3 separate regions of the Homo sapiens genome follow, and regions 1 and 2 are each linked to region 3. The links are contacts of gene promoters, found by promoter capture Hi-C in blood cells and fetal thymus (Javierre and others, 2016). All regions are on one chromosome and are shown on one strand. The core of a region is centred on a gene start or on the middle of the fragment in contact, and the rest is flanking DNA. Distances in the headings are between cores, read along the strand shown. Region 1 overlaps BUB1B-PAK6 (BUB1B-PAK6 readthrough). Region 2 overlaps BUB1B-PAK6 (BUB1B-PAK6 readthrough). Region 3 holds the start of SRP14 (signal recognition particle 14).

Evidence for each region. Contacts are between HindIII fragments. The CHiCAGO score rates a contact against its expected background, and 5 or more counts as called.
Region 1: a contact is called between a fragment that was not itself captured here and the fragment with the promoter of SRP14 in region 3, in 15 of 17 cell types (naive B cells, total B cells, naive CD4 T cells and 12 more). The highest score is 22.5, in naive B cells.
Region 2: a contact is called between a fragment that was not itself captured here and the fragment with the promoter of SRP14 in region 3, in 5 of 17 cell types (total B cells, naive B cells, megakaryocytes and 2 more). The highest score is 9.4, in total B cells.

The regions. Positions count from the first base shown.
Region 1 is chr15:40,262,087-40,265,619 of GRCh38, reverse strand. BUB1B-PAK6 (BUB1B-PAK6 readthrough) reads right to left here. Exons shown (of 10, transcript NM_001128629.3): 3 at 631-839. The coding sequence starts at 834. PAK6 (p21 (RAC1) activated kinase 6) reads right to left here. Exons shown (of 11, transcript NM_001395430.1): 4 at 631-839. The coding sequence starts at 834. Among named protein-coding and RNA genes, the nearest start is that of PAK6-AS1, 11 kb to the right of the region's middle. The HindIII fragment of the contact is 1,135 bases long and covers 1,228-2,362 here.
Region 2 is chr15:40,241,287-40,245,234 of GRCh38, reverse strand. All of the region lies in intron 1 of BUB1B-PAK6 (BUB1B-PAK6 readthrough), which reads right to left. All of the region lies in intron 2 of PAK6 (p21 (RAC1) activated kinase 6), which reads right to left. Among named protein-coding and RNA genes, the nearest start is that of PAK6, 4.2 kb to the right of the region's middle. RefSeq lists enhancers at 1-87, 2,412-2,911. The HindIII fragment of the contact is 1,282 bases long and covers 1,348-2,629 here.
Region 3 is chr15:40,037,931-40,041,404 of GRCh38, reverse strand. SRP14 (signal recognition particle 14) reads left to right here and starts at 2,224. Exons shown (of 5, transcript NM_003134.6): 1 at 2,224-2,312; 2 at 2,457-2,529; 3 at 3,011-3,123. The coding sequence starts at 2,289. It overlaps SRP14-DT (SRP14 divergent transcript), which reads right to left and starts at 2,094. Exons shown (of 3, transcript NR_040060.1): 1 at 1,957-2,094. LOC124903471 (a long non-coding RNA gene) reads right to left here. Exons shown (of 2, transcript XR_007064596.1): 2 at 2,996-3,474. RefSeq lists a silencer at 2,021-2,230 and enhancers at 1,316-2,260, 2,311-2,490, 2,511-2,560, 2,261-3,206. The HindIII fragment of the contact is 8,433 bases long and covers 1-3,474 here.

The DNA.
Region 1 (3,533 bases), core at 546-3,045, 220 kb before region 3:
CAGCAGAGCAGATGGTGAGTGCCATGGGGCTGCATCCAGCATGCCCAGGGGTGTGGTCGGCTGGGCCAGGGAGCTGGAGCTCAGGGGGCGGGGCTCCATTCTCTAGCTCCACGGGTGGCTGGGAGAGATGTGCCCAGCCCTCTGAGGAAGAGACACCAGGCCGGGGGCTCCTCCACACACACTGGCTTCGCAGCCTCCAAACCCTGATAGGGCCCCTGACCCCACCTTCTACCAGGCTCTTGGGTCTACTAGTCGTGACCCTCACAACTAAAATTCTCCTGGTCTGGGAGAGCCCTCAGTCCCTATGGGGCTGCAGGTCCAAATATTGAATGGGACACGTCCTAAAAGACTATTCGTTGTCATCTGAAATACAAATGCAATTGAGCATCTCACATTTTCATGTGCTGAATCTGGCAACCCCACCACCCTGCAGAGAGGGTCTCCCCAGCCTCCTTCGCCCTGGCTTACCCAGGGAGAGAATGGCAGGCTGACAGGCAGGGAGTTAAAACAGCTGATTAACTGATAGCTGTGAAGTAGGTGGTTCCTCCAGGGGCCTTTCTGAGGTTTAGCCAGGCATGGTTGTCTGAGTACTGGGAGAGGCTGAACCTCATCCCTGCCGGCCCCTCTTACCTTCATGGGCTGGAGCTGCACCCGTGTGATTCGCGAAGGGTCCACCACGGGCTTGGGGCGCCGCAGTGTGTCCAGGATGTTCTGCCATTGTGGGGGGAGGCCCACAAACTTGCCTTCTTTGGGGTCGAAGGAGGTGTGGACACGGTGCTGGAAGTTCTGTGGCGCTGAGATCTCAGGGCGTTTCTTCTTTTTCTTGCGGAACATGGTGCCTGTAAGTGCAGAGTAAGGTTGAGCTCCCTCCCGGGAAAGAGGGGTGGCTGCAGCAGGGCCTGGGGCACCAGGTTCAGGGCTCCCTCCCCTCCCCCAGCACAGCTCCCCTAGAAGCCTAGGGCTTCCCTCCACCTCCATCTCTGCTTCCTCAGGGAAATGGCTGGCTCCCAGCAGAACAGTCCCAGAAACAACAAACGTGCCATAAATAAGCCAGTGCAGACTATAAACAAGGAAAAGAGGTGTCTTCTTGCCTGTGCCAAGTCCCCTATGGAGCAGGCAGACTCTGGGGGTGTGTTTTTATAAAATCCAAAGCCCATTACAAGTATCATTCCACTGTCTGTCAACGAATTTTAAAAATGGGGAAAGAGGGAGGAAAGTTAGCAAGCTTGTTTTATGAAACGAGTATGACCTTGATTCTTAAAACCAGATAAGGAGAGTGCAAGAAAAGGAAAATTTGACTCAATATCATTTAGGAACGTAACTATGAAAATCTTAAAACTATCGAATTGAATCCAACAGTATATTAAAGTTATTTTTTTGTTGGCTTTTTTTTTTTATTACAACTCAGCTTTGTCCCAGGATGGTTGAACCTGTTAATATGATACGTTAATAAAAAGCCAACCAGCTGATCACAGACATGCTGCCCGGTGTGGGACTATTATGTATCAGGGAGCCCCCAAAGGGCCTTCATGGTTACCATGTGCTTTACCTCAATTCCAGAAAGGCCCTGAGCCAAGAGGATAGCCTGGGGTGGGTGAGGGGCAGCTAACTTAGGGGTAAAGCTCTCCAGAGAAGGCAGAGAGCACCACCTCCCCTTGACACTCTTCTCTCTGGTATTGGAGCTCTATGTAAAACATCACCTGGGCCGGGCATGGTGGTTCATGCCTGTAATCCTAGTACTCTGGGAGGCCGAGGCGGGTGGATCACCTGAGGTCAGGAGTTTGAGACCAGCTTGGCCAACATGGTGAAAACCTGTCTTGACTAAAAATACAAAGAAATTAGCCGGGCCTGGTGGCACGTGCCTGTAGTCCCGGATACCCATGGGGTTGAGGGAGGAGAATCGCTTGAACCCAGGAGGCTGAGGCTGCAGTGAGCTGAGATTGCCCCACTGCACTCCAGCCTGGGCAACAGAATGAGACTCTGTCTCAAAAAACAAACAATAAAACACTTAACCTGCAATCAAGCCTGTGTCCCGTGCCTTGCTGATTCTGGCTTTGCCTAAGGTCGTGCTGAGCTGCATACACAGAAGTGACACAGGCTTGCAATGGATAGCATGGGTAGATCTGAGAGTGGGGAACTGGGGGCCTGGGAAGGGGAGGGACACTTCCAAAGGGTTGCTCTAGTTTCGCCTTCAGGGGATCCCGGACCTGGGATCACATGTTGATGGCAGACAGGGCCAGGGCTGCCTCTTGAATGCTTTTGGATCTGAAGAGGCTCAGAACAGCTCACTGGGTTCTTATGTATCTGAAAAGGTCACTTCCAGGCTTCAAGAAACTGAAACATGATTCTTGAACTGAAAGCTTGGATTACTCATCCGCCCGAAGATCTGGAGTGCAGGGCCGTCATGTTCTCTTTTGGCTCTTGCTATGGAAACAGCATTTTCCTAGTCATTTTGGCAGGTTCTGAAGGAGGTCGCAGATCTGGGAGGCAGCTGGCAGAAAGGCAGGGACCCTGGACAGCCAGTGGTTCCCCACTAGGAATTCACCATGCGTGACTCAATCAGAGCCCACGTCACATCTCAATGTCAGCCATGCTTCTGGGTCTTGAGGTTCGGGATCCACCGAACACCCCCTAGAGGTAGAGCCACATGTACAGGACCCTTACAGACCAAGCCCTTTGGAATAAAACAACCTGTGTGAGTTGCAGATGAGTTGTAGGGAGTCTCCCACTAATAATTTGGAGAGATTTTGAACAAATAACTGAAATGATCTGAGCCAGGGGGGTTAATGAAAGACAGCTCATAGGGTTTAGGGTGTGTGAAGTAAGCAGAGTCCCCATACATGACGGTTGTTTCTCTTGTGATGTCACCTCTCTTTGAATCCCTGTCTTGAAGCTCAGGCCCTCCAGACACTGGCACTTGGGCAGATACAAGTCTGGGAGTAACACCAAACCACTTTCTGCTCAGACTTACCAGTCAAAGGGGTCATGCCTGATGTCAGGGGTCTGGGACCTGGGGACCTCGCCATATATACATCATGGTTTGGTAAAATTTGTCCTCCTCCTTTTGGCCTTTGCCTTTTTTGTTGTTGTTTGTTGTTGTTGTTGTTGTTTTTGAGAAGGAGTCTTGCCGCCCTGTCGCCCAGACTGGAGTGTAGTGGCACCATCTGGGCTCACTGCAACCTCCACCTCCCGGGTTCAAGTGATTCTCTTGCCTCAGCCTCCTGAATAGCTGAGATTACAGGCACCCACCAACATACCCGGCTAATTTTTGTATTTTTAGTAGAGACGGGATTTCACCATGTTGGCCAGGCTGGTCTCGAACTTCTGACTTCAAATGATCCACCTGCCTTGGTCTCCCAAAGTGCTGGGATTACAGCCTTTGCCTTTTGCTACAGAAGAGTCTTTATTCAGCAGGTCTATTCCCCCAGTCCCTTGGATAGACCTGCTATCCCTGGATTAGTTGAGCTGCCTGTTTCGCCCTCCTCCCTAGCTCTGTGAAATCTTCTGGAGGTGCAGGGACACAGACTGCAGCT
Region 2 (3,948 bases), core at 739-3,238, 200 kb before region 3:
CCAGCTGAACTGAGCTTTCTGAACCTGCTTCCCTGGACACCCAGAGGATCCCTCACCAGGTCCTTGACAGCCTGAAGGACACAGCTCTGCTTCCAGCCCCTTAGCAAGAGGCCCAAAGAGCTGAGTGCATGGAGGCTGTGGGCAGACCAGAGCACAAGAGATTGTTGCCTAGGCAGAGAGACACTGGGATTGGCTGACCGAGGCAGCACTTTTGGGGAATAGGTTGCCACGGAGAATCCACAGGTGTCAAAAAAAGTCATCACTGGCCCTATGTGAATACTTGGGTCTCTGCCCTGCCTGATGTGTCGTGATGAGGTTTTGTAGGAAATGCTGGCCAGCAGAGGTGTCCCTTTGCTGGGGCTGAGGCAGTTGCGGCCTCTCATGTAGTTATGAGGGAACCTGTTTTTTCACATGTGAGTTCCCCCAGCCCAAGAAAGCCTGTCATGCTCTGGGGTTGCCTTGTTTTTCTTAGGTGAATAAGCTTTAGGATTACCTTTCCTAAATTCATAGAACAGATAATCCTTTGTAGAAAAAGCAGGCTGGGTGTGGTGGCTCACATCTGTAATCCCAGCACTTTGGGAGGCTGAGGTCGGCGGATCACCTGAGGTCAGGAGTTCGAGACTAGCCTGGCCAACATAGTGAAACCCCATCTCTACTAAAAATACAAAAATCAGCCGGGCATGGTGGTGGGTGCTTGTAATCCCACCTACTTGGGAGGCTGAGGCAGGAGAATCGCTTGAACCAGGGAGGCGGAGGTTGCAGAGAGCCAAGATCGTGCCACTGCACTCCAGCCTGGGCAACAAGAGCGAAACTCTGTCTCAAAAAAAAAAATAAAAAGAAAAAAAGAGAAAACAAAAGTCTCTGAGATGGAACCTCACGATTACTGGCCTTTTTTTTTTTTTTTTGAGACAGAGTCTTGCTCTGTGGCCAGGCTGGAGTGCAGTGGCACGATCCCAGCTCACTACAACCTCCGCCTCCTGGGTTCAAGCGATTCCCCTGCCTCAGCCTCCCGGGTAGCTGGGACTACAGGCACGCGCCACCACGTCCAGCTAATTTTTTGTATTTTTTAGTAGAGACGGGGTTCACCATGTTGGCCAGGATGGTCTGGATCTCTTGATCTTGTGATCTGCCTACCTCAGCCTCCCAAAGTGCTGGGATTACAGGCGTGAGCCACTGCACCTTGCCCACGATTACTAGGCATTTCTAAGCTACTTGCCAGAGTGATCCAGGAGCCTGCCGTGGCCTTGTCTGGCCCCTCTGCCTGCCACATCACCAAGTGTATGCTTTAGATGGGGCTCAGCAGAACACAGTTCCTCATGCAGTTAGGACCAGCATGTGAAAAAAGCTTCCAGTCCCCAAAAGGAGTAGGGCCAGGGCCACAGCCCGGCTCTCGATCCCTTCACTAGGGGCAGCCCACTTCAAGTCCTCAAGACCTCCAAGTCTAGACCCCAGAAAGAGGAGTCTCAAGTTATTCCTTAGAAAGCCTCAGTGGACAAACAATATGCTATTTGGGAAAAAAATAGACCTGGCATTATTGTTTCTTCCCAGCTTTCCTGGGCATTCTGAGAGCTTTTGTTTCTCCTCAGAGGAGGGTTCTTTCAAAGTCACCTCCTCCGTGAAGCCTTTCCTGATTCCCCCGAACAAGGTATGGTCTCTCCTGGCACTTTGTTCCTCTGACACCAGTTATCATCACGGTGATAATAGTTATCTCTTGCTGAACATGTACGTATGTGCCAGTCATGCCATTCAGAGCATTCACTTATTATCTTATTTAATCCTCTCAACAACCCTAACTCATAGGTACTATAATTATCTCTGTTGGACAGGAGAGGAAATTGAGACCCAGAGACATGAAGTAACTTGCCCGAGTCACCAGGAAGAGGCAGCACCGGGCCTGAGGCTCATGCTGCTGACTTCATGTTAACCAACCACCATCCTGCCTCTTCCCGCCCTGGTCTATCTCCCCGAGCCTTCACCTCCTCCTGCAACTGCAGATAGAAGCTGCTTCTTCCTTTGTTTGTCATTCTCAACTTATCTTTTTTGTCCATCTTTATAAAGTTCTATGTTAAGAACCGTTGCCCAGTATTGGTGTAAATTTATAAATTATCTGGGCTGGATGGGTCATGGCTGCCAACTTCAGCGATGAGTTGGACCCAGAGTTGGCAAAAGGACGAAGCCACCTGGGGGCTGATGGTGGCTTTGTGGCTCCGCTTGTTTCTGGCGCGGTTGGCCCCACGCTCAGCTCAGCTTTCCTTTCCACTGCTCTGCTGCAGGGCTATGAGCATCCCCAGGGCAAGAGCTCTGTCCTGCTTTGTCCACCCCCTCTTCCTGCCACCAGTGCTTGCACCTAGTAGTCAGGCCATGGCTGTCATCTGCTTGGCAGCCTGTGCGCCAGAACAAGGTGCTGCCTGGACCCCACACCCTCCCAGGAAGAGACACGGTCCCCTTTATCTCACATCTCACTCTTCTCGCTTTAGCCCTTCCTGGCCCCTAGGGCTGAGCTCTGGTGGGGTGGAGGGCACCTCCTCAGAAGGGGACAACTTCCCAGGCCCAGGCAGACTGCTCGCCCTGGGCAGGAGGGCCAGCCTTGGCTTCAGCAAGTTCAGAACTCATTCTGCCCTCAGAAGCTTCCATTTGCAATGCTCCTCCCCAACCTGCTGGCTAGTCCACCTCTTTCTACCAAGGAGGCTCCCAGAAATAAGCTCTCTCCTTGAGGCCCGGTAGGTGCAGGCGGCCAGATGCCTCCTGATGAGCTTTACTGGTGTCCTTCCTGCTGCTCAGGTCTCAGGCACTGCTTCCGCAGCCTGGGCCTTCCTGCTCAGGGCGACGAGCGCATCTTACGGGAAGGACTTTCTGCTTCAGTCCACAGGACAGCCTCCCATGAGTCCTTCCTGCCTTCTGCACCCAGGACACTGTGTGCGGTGGGCATCTCTGGGCCATTTGGGTGAGGAATTCAATCTTTCAGTGTCTTAGCCTCTTCCCTGCCCAGTCACCTACGCAGAGGGCCTCTCCCACAGAAGCGGGCTGGCATAAGAAGGCCAGCTGTCTGGAGTCCTCCCTGAGCCCTCAGGACCCCAGGCAGCCTTTTCCTTTCCTGCTCAGCCTGCCCTGGCCCCTACTCTCTGCTCCCTCCTGGCCCAACCTGCTGCCCGCTGCTGGCCTGCTGTCTACCTAGTGCTCGACAGCCTCCGCCCCTCTGACCCCAACTGGGCAGCAGCCCCTGCTCAGCTCTGCATGCATGGAAGACTCCTAGGCACAGAGTCACCTTTTGTGAGGCAGCATGAGATACCCCCACAGCTGGGTCATTCTCCTCATCCAGGAGCCAGGTGTGGGAATTCACTGGCATGAGAGACACTTATGGGTTCCTCCTGACTCTGAGCACATGTGCTCCTCCAGGGCAGGGGACTTTTTGGTCATCCTTAGGAGTTGTGCACAGAGCGGGCTTTCCTTGGCTGGAGACCCCACCCACTGCACCCTCCCTGTGTCTGGCAAGTCCGGGAGGGCCCAGAGCACTCACAAAGCATCAGTTTGTCCTCGGGGCACTGGAGAGGCCGTGCAGTCCCCACACTCCCCCTCTCAGGTGCACAGAGCTTCCATCCAAATCAGCTGCTCCCAGAAGGGCTTGCCTCTGGTGCCGACCCTTCCCTGACCAGGCGCTCTGTCACTAGGGCTCCCAGGTGCCACCTCCAAGCCTGGGCCAGGACAACCGCCAGGGAAGCCTGCCTGCAGAGGGGACTCCTTGCTTGCCCCAAAGGCCTCAACCCCAGCTAGATGAGCTCCCGTGGGGCTGAGTCCCAGGCCCACCAGGCCTGGGGGCCACACGGCTCCTAAGCTCATCCTCTCCTCCTGCAGCCCAGTTCCCACCAGAACCAGCCTCAGGAAGACCCCAGGCAGAACGGCACAAACCTCTTGGTGTACAATGCCAGGGAAAGGATAACTGGAGACCAC
Region 3 (3,474 bases), core at 975-3,474:
CTCAAGACTAGCAAAGATTAGAACAGTCTGGTGAAAACCCCTCCTATAGGGCCGCCAACACAAGACCACTTTGTGATGGCACCATATGAATAACCTCTAGCATGCGTGTCCAACCTTTTGGCTTCCCTGGGCCACATTGAAAGAATCGTCCTGGGCCATATGTAAAACACACTAACACTAATGATAGCTGATGAGATAAAATTTTTTTAAAAAGGGCCCATGCATAATTTTCATGATATCTGCCAATACAGATGAGCAAAAACATCCTCACATTCAAATGACTGGACACCCATGCAAGAGCCCTGGGCCTTGGTATTACTAGCTCAGAAGTCAAAGTCCTGGTTGAGAGCACCAGATTGACCCACGTTAGGTCATATGCTTGAGCCCAGGTGCTGAGGGCAGTTGAGAGAGTGACCCTCTGACCCTTCTATTTATTTATTTATTGCCTCTCACCAAAACCCACACAACAGGGGATTGCAAACAGGTTCAAATGCTGGAGAACCAAAAGCCAATACAGGTTGGCTACACAAGGTCATCAGCCTAGGGCAGGAAGTGGGCAACGGGCGCTGGCCATTTGGAAGAAAATGTGAAATCAGAGAGTGAACATATTTAAGCCATTAAGTTTGAATCTCCTAACTGGGCTCCTCATTTCCTGCCCTGTCTCTCTACAGTGCATTCTCCACAACACAGACAGGGGGATCTTTAAAAAATATAAATCAGATTTTCAGTGTTCTGTTGAAAACTTCCTTAACGAGTCTTCTCTTTGTATCTAGAACAAAATCCAGGCTTACTATGGTCACGGGCCCTACATAATCTGGTCCCCAGCTACCTCTCCATACTCCTTTACTCCTTGCTCCACAAGCCCTCCTCACCCCCACCCGCACCTGCCAGTCTTACAGACACAGGGCAACTTGTTTCCCCTTTGAAGGTTTTGCTCTAGCCGTTCCCTGTGTCTGAAACACTGTGTCCCTAGATCTTTGGATGGCTGGTCCTTTCAGCTTTCAACTCAAAGTTCTCCTTTTCGACGAGAACTCCCCTGACCCCAACCCAGGCAGTCCCCTTCCCACTCTCATTATACAGCCCTGCTTAGGCTGTCTCACGGAATTCATTATCTGAAGCTGTACTACTTACTTGTTTGCTTCATTGTTTATTTCCTCCCTGCCCCTTTAACCCAACTTCCAGGAAACCAGGAACTTAGCTTTTCTTATCCTGCTGCATCCCCAACCTCTACAACCGTGCCTGGCACAGACTGAGAGGCACTCAGCGAAAACCTCTTGTGTGGTGGAATGCTTGACTTTATAGAGGGCCCAGGGTTCAAGTTGGCTAGTGGCAGAGAGGGCTTACAACCTAGTTCTCCTGACTAATCAGAGGTAGAACTAAAGACTGGGCTCCAGCCCCTCATTTTTTTTTTTTTTTTTTTTTTTTTTGAGACGGAGTCTCGCTCTGTCTTCCAGGCTGGAGTGCAGTGGCGCGATCTCAGCTCACTGCAAGCTCTGCCTCCTGGGTTCACGCCATTCTCCTGCCTCAGCCTCCCGAGTAGCTAGGATTACAGGTGCCCGCCACCACGCCCGGCTAACTTTTTTGTATTTTTAGTAGAGACAGCGTTTCACCGTGTTAGCCAGGATGGTCTCAATCTCCTGACCTCGTGATCCACCCGCCTCGGCCTCCCAAAGTGCCGGGATTACAGGCGTGAGCCACCACGCCCGGCCCAGCCCTTCTGGCTAGAGCTGCAGGTCAGCGTTTAGGGAGAGTTTAAAGGATCTCTACAGGAACTTATAATGACAATAATGAAAAGAACAATAGCTGATACCTACTGAACACGCTCTATGTGCCAGGCACTGTTCTACGTATTTAATCTGAGTTTCATTTACGCTTCACGACCACACTGCGCGGTAGATACTATCATTACCCTTACTTTATGGATAAGGAAACTGAGTCACTGAGTTGTTAGGTTACCTGCCCAGCATACAGCTGAATATAAATCGTACGCTGCTATCAAAACTTTCTTTTGCTCTCACTCCGTCACACTGGCTGGGGTGAGACGATTTCTCGCATGTGACGACCCAGGACAGCCCCAGCGCCTCCGGGTCACAGGCCCCCGGACGTCCCAGGGCGCGGGCGCTAGGCGGGCGGGGAGGGGGGAGGGCGCAGGCCGGGATTGGTGGAAGAGAAGAGATTGGTGGAAGACAATGGAAGTCTAGTAGCGGAAGTCCCGCCCAGCCTAGGCCGAACTTCCGGCTCTCACTGCTAGGGGCTTAAGCGGAGGGAGTCGAGCCAGCGTCGCCGCGATGGTGTTGTTGGAGAGCGAGCAGGTATGGCTAGGCCTGGCCGGCCGAGGGAAGGGGGCGGCTCAGGCGTTACTCGAGACCTGTGCCTCCTGCAGGAGGACCAGGGCCTTGACGCGGCAGGACGAGGATTTGGGGCTGGCTAACGGGGCTGGGCCTGTTGTTTTCCAGTTCCTGACGGAGCTGACCAGACTTTTCCAGAAGTGCCGGACGTCGGGCAGCGTCTATATCACCTTGAAGAAGTGTAAGCAGCGGGAGGGGAGCCGGGCGATGCTCCCTGGGTTCCCGGTGTCTGGGAGCCACCGGAGTCTGTCTGCCGCGGACCGCCGCCTTCCTCTACCTTTCCCCACCCTGTACTGAGCACATTCGGGGCTTCGGGCCCGGAAAATAGTAGGGATTGTAGCTGGCTCAGTCCCCAGCACTGAGCCGCCTAGGTTGCTTCTGGTAACAATGGGCCCCAAGCAGCCCAGGGCTCTTTGTCAGGGATCCCAGACGCCGCCACTTTGAGTGGAATTTAACGTGCTTCGATATTACATGTTTCCGTCGTGGAAATAATAGTTTCTCCAGGGTTTCGCCAGACCGTGATAGCAGATGAGGTGTTTAACAAAACTAGAGCAGCGGGGCTGGGTTAGGTCATCACTTACCCCACTCCTCTGTTTTAACTGTTTGTCTGCCGCTCAGCCACGTACGCGGCCGTGTTCACCAGGATGCATTTTTTCCTTCAGATGACGGTCGAACCAAACCCATTCCAAAGAAGGGTACTGTGGAGGGCTTTGAGCCCGCAGACAACAAGTGTCTGTTAAGAGCTACCGATGGGAAGAAGAAGATCAGCACTGTGGTGAGCTTAATTTCTAAGGCTGTCTTTTGAAATGTAAAGACTTGAACTTAACAGAGGATGGGGCGTTTCTGAACCAGGCTTTTATTTGTTTTTCCCTTTTGCCCTGTGTGGCTATTTTTGAGACCAGGACCTTCCTATACTTTAGTAGTGGAAACCTCAAGAATAAAATAAGAAGGTAGAGGTCAGACAGTCGTTAGTTCTGCTAAAGCTCTTGTGGAAATGAAAGTAGCATATTGGTCCTTATTCGTAGTACTGTAAGGAGCAGCTGGCATAAATATTTGATTCCTTAGCCCCTTACTGTGCTGGGCCTTCAATAAGCAGTTTCTTGGTACCAGGTGATGCTATTATTTC